Regions from separate parts of the Homo sapiens genome. Here region 2 is linked to region 1. Evidence: promoter capture Hi-C in 16 types of primary human blood cells and fetal thymus (Javierre and others, 2016). All regions are on one chromosome and are shown on one strand. The core of a region is centred on a gene start or on the middle of the fragment in contact, and the rest is flanking DNA. Distances in the headings are between cores, read along the strand shown.

The links. The method cuts DNA at HindIII sites, captures the fragments that hold promoters and counts their contacts. A CHiCAGO score of 5 or more calls a contact.
Region 2: a contact is called between a fragment that was not itself captured here and the fragment with the promoter of HPN in region 1, in 3 of 17 cell types (total B cells, naive CD4 T cells and naive B cells). The highest score is 6.5, in total B cells.

The regions. Positions count from the first base shown.
Region 1 is chr19:35,040,471-35,043,590 of GRCh38, reverse strand. It overlaps HPN (hepsin), which reads right to left and starts at 1,870. Exons shown (of 13, transcript NM_001384133.1): 1 at 1,719-1,870; 2 at 1,069-1,138. The coding sequence starts at 1,084. RefSeq lists an enhancer at 2,399-3,120. The HindIII fragment of the contact is 15,827 bases long and covers 1-3,120 here.
Region 2 is chr19:35,237,131-35,240,250 of GRCh38, reverse strand. No RefSeq gene overlaps it. Among named protein-coding and RNA genes, the nearest start is that of FAM187B, 10 kb to the right of the region's middle. The HindIII fragment of the contact is 5,085 bases long and covers 1-3,120 here.

The DNA.
Region 1 (3,120 bases), core at 621-3,120:
GTGCTTCCTGCCCATCCTGGCATTTCAGGCCTCGCCCCACGCTGTTGGACATGCACTGTCACCCTCTCCATTTCACAGATGAGAGAATGGAGGCCCAGGGAGAACACGCCGTCTGCCCAGGGCCACACAGCTAGAAAGTGCTACTGCCCAGGACTGAGCCCGGCTATCCTGGTTGCGGAAGAAGAGAGGGAGTCAGCCCCAGCTAGGGGAAGGCAGAAAGAACAGGACGCCCCTCCATGCGCCCCTCCAGCTGGGTCCCATGTGTGAGAGGTAGAAAGGAAGCCAGGCTAGCTGGGGGCTGCCCAGAGACTCCCAAGGGCCAGCAACTCCATGACGCAGTCTCTCTCTCTCATCCTTATGGTGGTTTCTCTGCCGTCTCTCCCCTCTCCATCCATCCAGGCCCAGTCCAAAGTCCTCCCTCTGCTCTTTTGCCCACAGAGCCAGGAGGTGGAGGAATGTCTGGGATCGGTGGGGGTCCTGGGTCTCTGGGACTCCGAGTTTGCCAACCTCTGTCATGACAGCTCTGCTTGATGGCATGCGTCTTATATGCAGAGCCCCAGACCAGTGCCTGGTGTGTGTCATGCACTCAGCAACCTCACAGAGGGAGGACTGGTATCCATGCTTGACCCAGAGGGAGACCAAAGCCCTAAGAATAATGTCACTTGCACCAGATCACACAGCAAAAAAGATGGCAAGAGCAAATTCAAATGCAAGCCTGTGTGTTTCACTCCAAATCTGTGTCCTTAACCATGACAGCTACAGCTTCCCCGCCTCAGCCCCAGCAGAGGACAAGTCCAGAGTTAGCTGAGAAATCACTGGGGGATGAGGGGAAACTGAGGCAGCACGCCAGGAAGGTCACATAGGGTAGAAGGGAGGCTGGTGGTGGCACAGCTGCACAGAAAATGTGGTTAATAGTTAATCAGGTGGAGGAGGACTAACAGGGGTGGGGATGCATCTGGGAGGGGTGCCCAGAGAGAGGGGGCTCCGAAGAGTAGAGGGTAGAGAAAAGAGCACAGAGGGCGGGGCGCCAGGCAGAGCCAAAGCTGGGGCTCAGGGAAGGGGACTCACCCTCCTTCTGCGCCATGTCACTGCCTCTTGTTAATGATTCCCTGGCTGACCTCCTGGGCCAGGGTGGGACCTGTGAGGAGATGGACGGGGAGGCAGGGCCTGGGGGAGCCCAGCCCAGCCCAGTCCTGGCGCCCCCAGTCCCAGGCGTCCATCCAGGCAGGCTGTAGGGACTGGGCCTTGGCCAGAGCACGCCGTGATCACGGACGCAGATTGGGCTGGGTTCAAGGATGGGGTCAGTGTCTGACCAGCAGCGGGGGGACGCCTGGATTTGCAGGGATGGGGACCCCCATGCCTGAGCCTGGTGGAGCAGGGGACTGAGGATCCCGGTTTGAGGGAGGAGACAGCTGAGGACCTGAAATCATAAGTCTTGGGAAAGGAGGAATTTGGGGGCCAGGACTCCCTAGTATGAGGGAGGAGGGGCCTGAGGGCTGGAACTCCTGGGTCTGGGGAGGAAAGGACTGGGGTCCAACGGCTGAGTCTGAAGGAAGAGCAGGACAGAACACCTAGGTGCTTGGGGGGACGTCATAGTGCCCCCTCTTCAGGTCCCCAGGAACCCCTCTATTAGGAGGTGGGCATTAGGCTGGGTGGGGGGATGAGGGAACCCCTGTCCTCAGGGCTGGAACTGTGAGTCTGGGGGCCCTTGTCCTTACCCTGGGGTCCAGCAGGTGGGGGCGGAGCCTCGAGGTAGTGCCGGGGTCGGGTCAGTCTCCAGGCCTGGGCAGGAGCATGGTGGCCCCGCAGCAGCGGGCGGCCTGGAGGCAGAGGCGGTGGCGTGGGGCCTGCTAGGCCAGGCTGCCTCACCTGAGGAGGAGGGGGCTGGGCGAGGGGCGGGTGAAGGGGCGGGGAGGGGCCGGACCATTCGATTGGCAGCACTGGAGGCCACCTGGCTGATGGGGCCGGGCTTGTGGGGGCTGGACCAGGCGGGCCCAGCTACGGGGCTTGCCTTGGACCTCCAGGGGGACCCAGGTGTGCCTGTCTGCGGGGATGTGGGAACAGGGACAGGCCTGGCCGGAGGCTGGGGGTTTAGGGAGAAAGTGCAGGCTGAAGGGTGGGGGTCTGACCAGAAGAGATCAGATGGAGGGCCCCAGCTGCCCTAAGCCCACTCCACCCTCACCCAGCGAACCCTTCCCCCCGCCCTTTCTGCGTCCTCCAGCCCCAGGTCCTGGCTGTGCCCGCCACTTGCTGCACCTCTGCCTAATTCCCTGCCCAATTCCTGGGCCCCAACCCCAGCCCCAGCCTCTCCCGCCTGCCCTGCTCATCCTGCCCCGGCCCCTCCCCCGCTGGCTTCCTACAAGTCACGGGGCTGGTTTGCTTTGGCAGCCTCCGCCCGGCCGCGGTGACCTCTGGAGCCAGAAAGTCCTAGCACTAGATAGGGGGGATGGGGGGCTTGGCCGGGAAAACACAGCGCTAAGGGCAGAGGCCCAGGCCAAGTGGCCGGAAGCGTCCGCAGGCAGATAACACACTGTCCCGCCAGCAGCCAGGCGCGGCCCACGTCAGACCCAGGGCCAGGTAAACACCAGACGTGCAGGGTCACCGCCAGACACCTGCCCGTGCTCAACCACACGCCGGACACAGTCGGCCTCGGCTGCTTGCCCCAGATAGGCCACCCGCACAACCGGCCCCACCCGCTTACCCACACGTGCCCGCTGTGCCCAGCCAAACCCACCTCCACCGCACCCATTTCCTCCACTCAGCCCAGGGCCCCTCATTGGGACACGCTGGTTTAGCCTGGCTTCCTCTGCCTTTCCATCCATACCCGTCTCTCCTTCCCTCTCCTTCTCCCCAGCGCCCACCTCTCCAGAGACTCACACTGCTGGGCACACCACACACCCCATGCCACCCCTGCACCCCAGCATCAGCCTCGATTCTCTTCCCTCCACGGCACCCCCTCCCTTCCTGGCTCCGTTCCACTCTCCCTCACCCCTGAGCCCATGGCTCCCCCAACCCCGACACAGATCAGGCACTAAGTGGCTTCACCTGTGGGCCCTCAGGTAGGGTCCCTGGAAAGCGGGCTCGAAGATTCGGGGACGGGAATGGGGGGAAGGTGACGGG
Region 2 (3,120 bases), core at 418-2,917, 200 kb before region 1:
AAACACTTTTCAAAAGAAAATATACATCTGGCCAAGAATCATATAAAAAAGCTCAACATCACTAATCATTAGTGAAACGCAAATCAAAACCACCATGAGATACCATCTCACATCAGTCAGAATGGCTATTATTAAAAAGTCAAAAAACAACATGCTGGCGAGGTTGCAGAGAAAAAGGAATGCTTACACACTGTTGGTGGGAGTGTTAATTAGCATGTAAGACAGTGTGGCAATTCCTCAAAGACCTAAAAACAGAACTACCATTCAACCTAACAAGCCCATTACTGGGTATACACCCAAAGAAATATAAATTGTTCTATCATAAAGACACATGCACACTTATATTCATTGCAGCACTATTCACAATAGCAAAGACATAGGATCAACCTAAATGTCCATCAATGGTAGACTGGATTAAAAAAATGTGGTACATATACACTATGGAATACTATGCAGCCATAAAAAAGAATGAAATCATGCCCTTTGCAGGAACAAGAATGGAGCTGAAGGTCATTATCCTTAGCAAACTAATGCAGAAAGAGAAAACTAAATACCGCATGTTCTCCCTTATAAGTGGAATCTAAATGATGAGAACACAAATACATAAAGGGGAACAACACACACTGGAGCCTATCAGAGGGTAGAGTGTGGGAGGAGGGAGAGGATCAGGAAAAATAGCTAAGGGGTACTAGGCTTAATACCTGGGTGATGAAATTATATGTACAACAAACCCCCATGATATAAATTTACCTCTATAAGAAACCTGCACACATACCCCTGAACTTAAAATCAAAAGTTTGAAAAAAAAGAATTGGTTACACTTTTTGATAGCACCCAACCCAAAGCAAATCCCCACTTCTTTGAATCCTTCCCACAATCATACAACACAGCCCAAATTCTGTTAGTCTTCTCTGACACCTTCCTGAGACACCACACCATTCCCCATGGTGTACATCTGCCCTCACTGCAGCAAGTCAAAAAACCTAACTTTGTTCATAGGTGCATGCCTGATTGTCTTTGGCTGATGGGTATTCACATAGCAAACCTGTTCCCACCTCAAGACCTTTGCATGTGCGGTGTGCTTAGTTCAGACCTTGCTTTCTCTGGATTTTTTTTTTTTTTTTTTTTTTTTTTTGAGACAGAGTCTCACTCTGTCACCCAGGCTAGAATGCAGTGGCACAATCTCAGCTCACTACAACCTCCACCTCCCAGGTTGAAGCAATTCTCCTGTCTCAGCCTTCTGAGTAGCTGGGATTATAGGCGTGCACCACCACACCTGGATAATTTTTGTATCTTTAGTAGAGATGGGGTTTCACCATGTTGGCCAGGCTGGTCTTGAACTCATGATCTCAGGTGCTCCACTTGCCTCAGCCTCCCAAAGTGCTGGGATCACAGGCATGAGCCGCTGTGTGAATCTTCATAACCATCTTATATAGGTCTGCTCAAATGTCACTTCTTCAGAGAAGCCTTCTCTTCTCACCTACCTCTCTCCCCACAGGCTGGGCATGGTGTCCCACACCTGTAATCCCAGTACTTTGGGAGGCTGAGACAGGAGGATAGTTTGAGGCTGTAAGTTTAAGACAAGCCTCTACATGGTGTATACATTTTCTTTATCCAGTCTACCATCTCTACCAAAAATTTTAAAAATTAGCTAGGCATGGTGGCACGTCCCTGTAGTCCTAGCTACTTAGGAGGCTGAGACAGGAGAATCACTTGAACCCAGGAGTTTCAGGCTGCAGTGAGCTATGATTACACCACTGCACTCCAGCCTGGGTGACAGAATGAGACCCTGTCTCAAAACAAATGAATAAATAAAAATAAAATAGTCTCTATATTAGTTGGCTAGGGCTGCCATAACAAACACCAGAGACTGGGTGGTTTAAACAACAGAAATTTATTTCTTCGCAATTCTGTAAGCTAGAAGTCCAAAATCAAGGTGTTGGCAGGTTTGGTTTCATTCTGAGGCCTTTCTTCTTGGTGTGCAGATGGTTCCCTTTTCACTATGTCCTCACATGGTCATCCCTCTGCCTGGGTTCTAATTCCCTCATCTTTTAAGGGCACTAGTCATATTGGATTAGAACCCACTCTAACAACCCTATTTTAACTTAATTACCTCTTTAAAAGCCCTGTTTCCCAATACAGTCATATTCTGAGGTATTGGGGGTCAGTGTTTCAACATATGAACTTGTGGGGTCATAATTCATCCCCTAATAGTCTCCATCCCCAATCTCTCTTTGCGCCTTCTTTTTTTCTTCAAAGCATTTACCATGACCTGATGTTTTATTAGTCATTTATTTGTTTACCATCTGTGTATTAGTCTATTTGCTTGCTACTATGAAGAAATATCTGAGACTGGGTAATTTCTAAAGAAAAAGATGTTTAATGGACTCAGAGCTGCACATGGCTGGGGAGGCCTCATAATCATGGCAGAAGGCAAAGGAGGAGCAAAGGCGTGTCTTACATGGCGGCAGGCAAGCAACTGTGTGTAGGGGAACTGCCCTTTATAAAACCATCAGATCTCACCAGGCATGGTGGCTCATGCCTGTAATCCCAGCACTTTGGGAGGCCGAGGCAGGTGGATCATTTGAGGTCAGGAGCTCAAGACCAGCCTGGCCAACATGGTGAAACCCCCTCTCTACTAAAAATATGAAAATTAGCTGGGCATGGTGGTGCACATCTGTAATTCCAGCTACTCAGGAGGCTGAGGCACAAGAATCGCTTGAACCAGGGAGGCAGAGGTTGCTGTCAGCTGAGATCGTGCCACTGCACTTCAGCCTGGGCAGCAGCAGAGTGAGACTCTCCCTCAAAAAAAAAAAAAAAAAAAAAAGAAAGAAAGAAAGAAAGAAAAAAACCATCAGATCTTGTGAGACTTATTCACTATCATGAGAATAGCATGGGAAAAACCTGCTCTCATGATTCAATTACCTCCCATCGGGTCCTTCCCATGACACGTGGGGATTATGAGAGCTACAATATGAGATGAGGTTTGGGTGGGGACACAGCCAAACCATATCACTGACCAAAGCATTCAATTGCCAGTTCATGATTTGCTATACTCCCTTATCCTGCCATAGCAACTAATGATGTTGCAGATGGTACCACCTCTGTTAGCCACAGTAT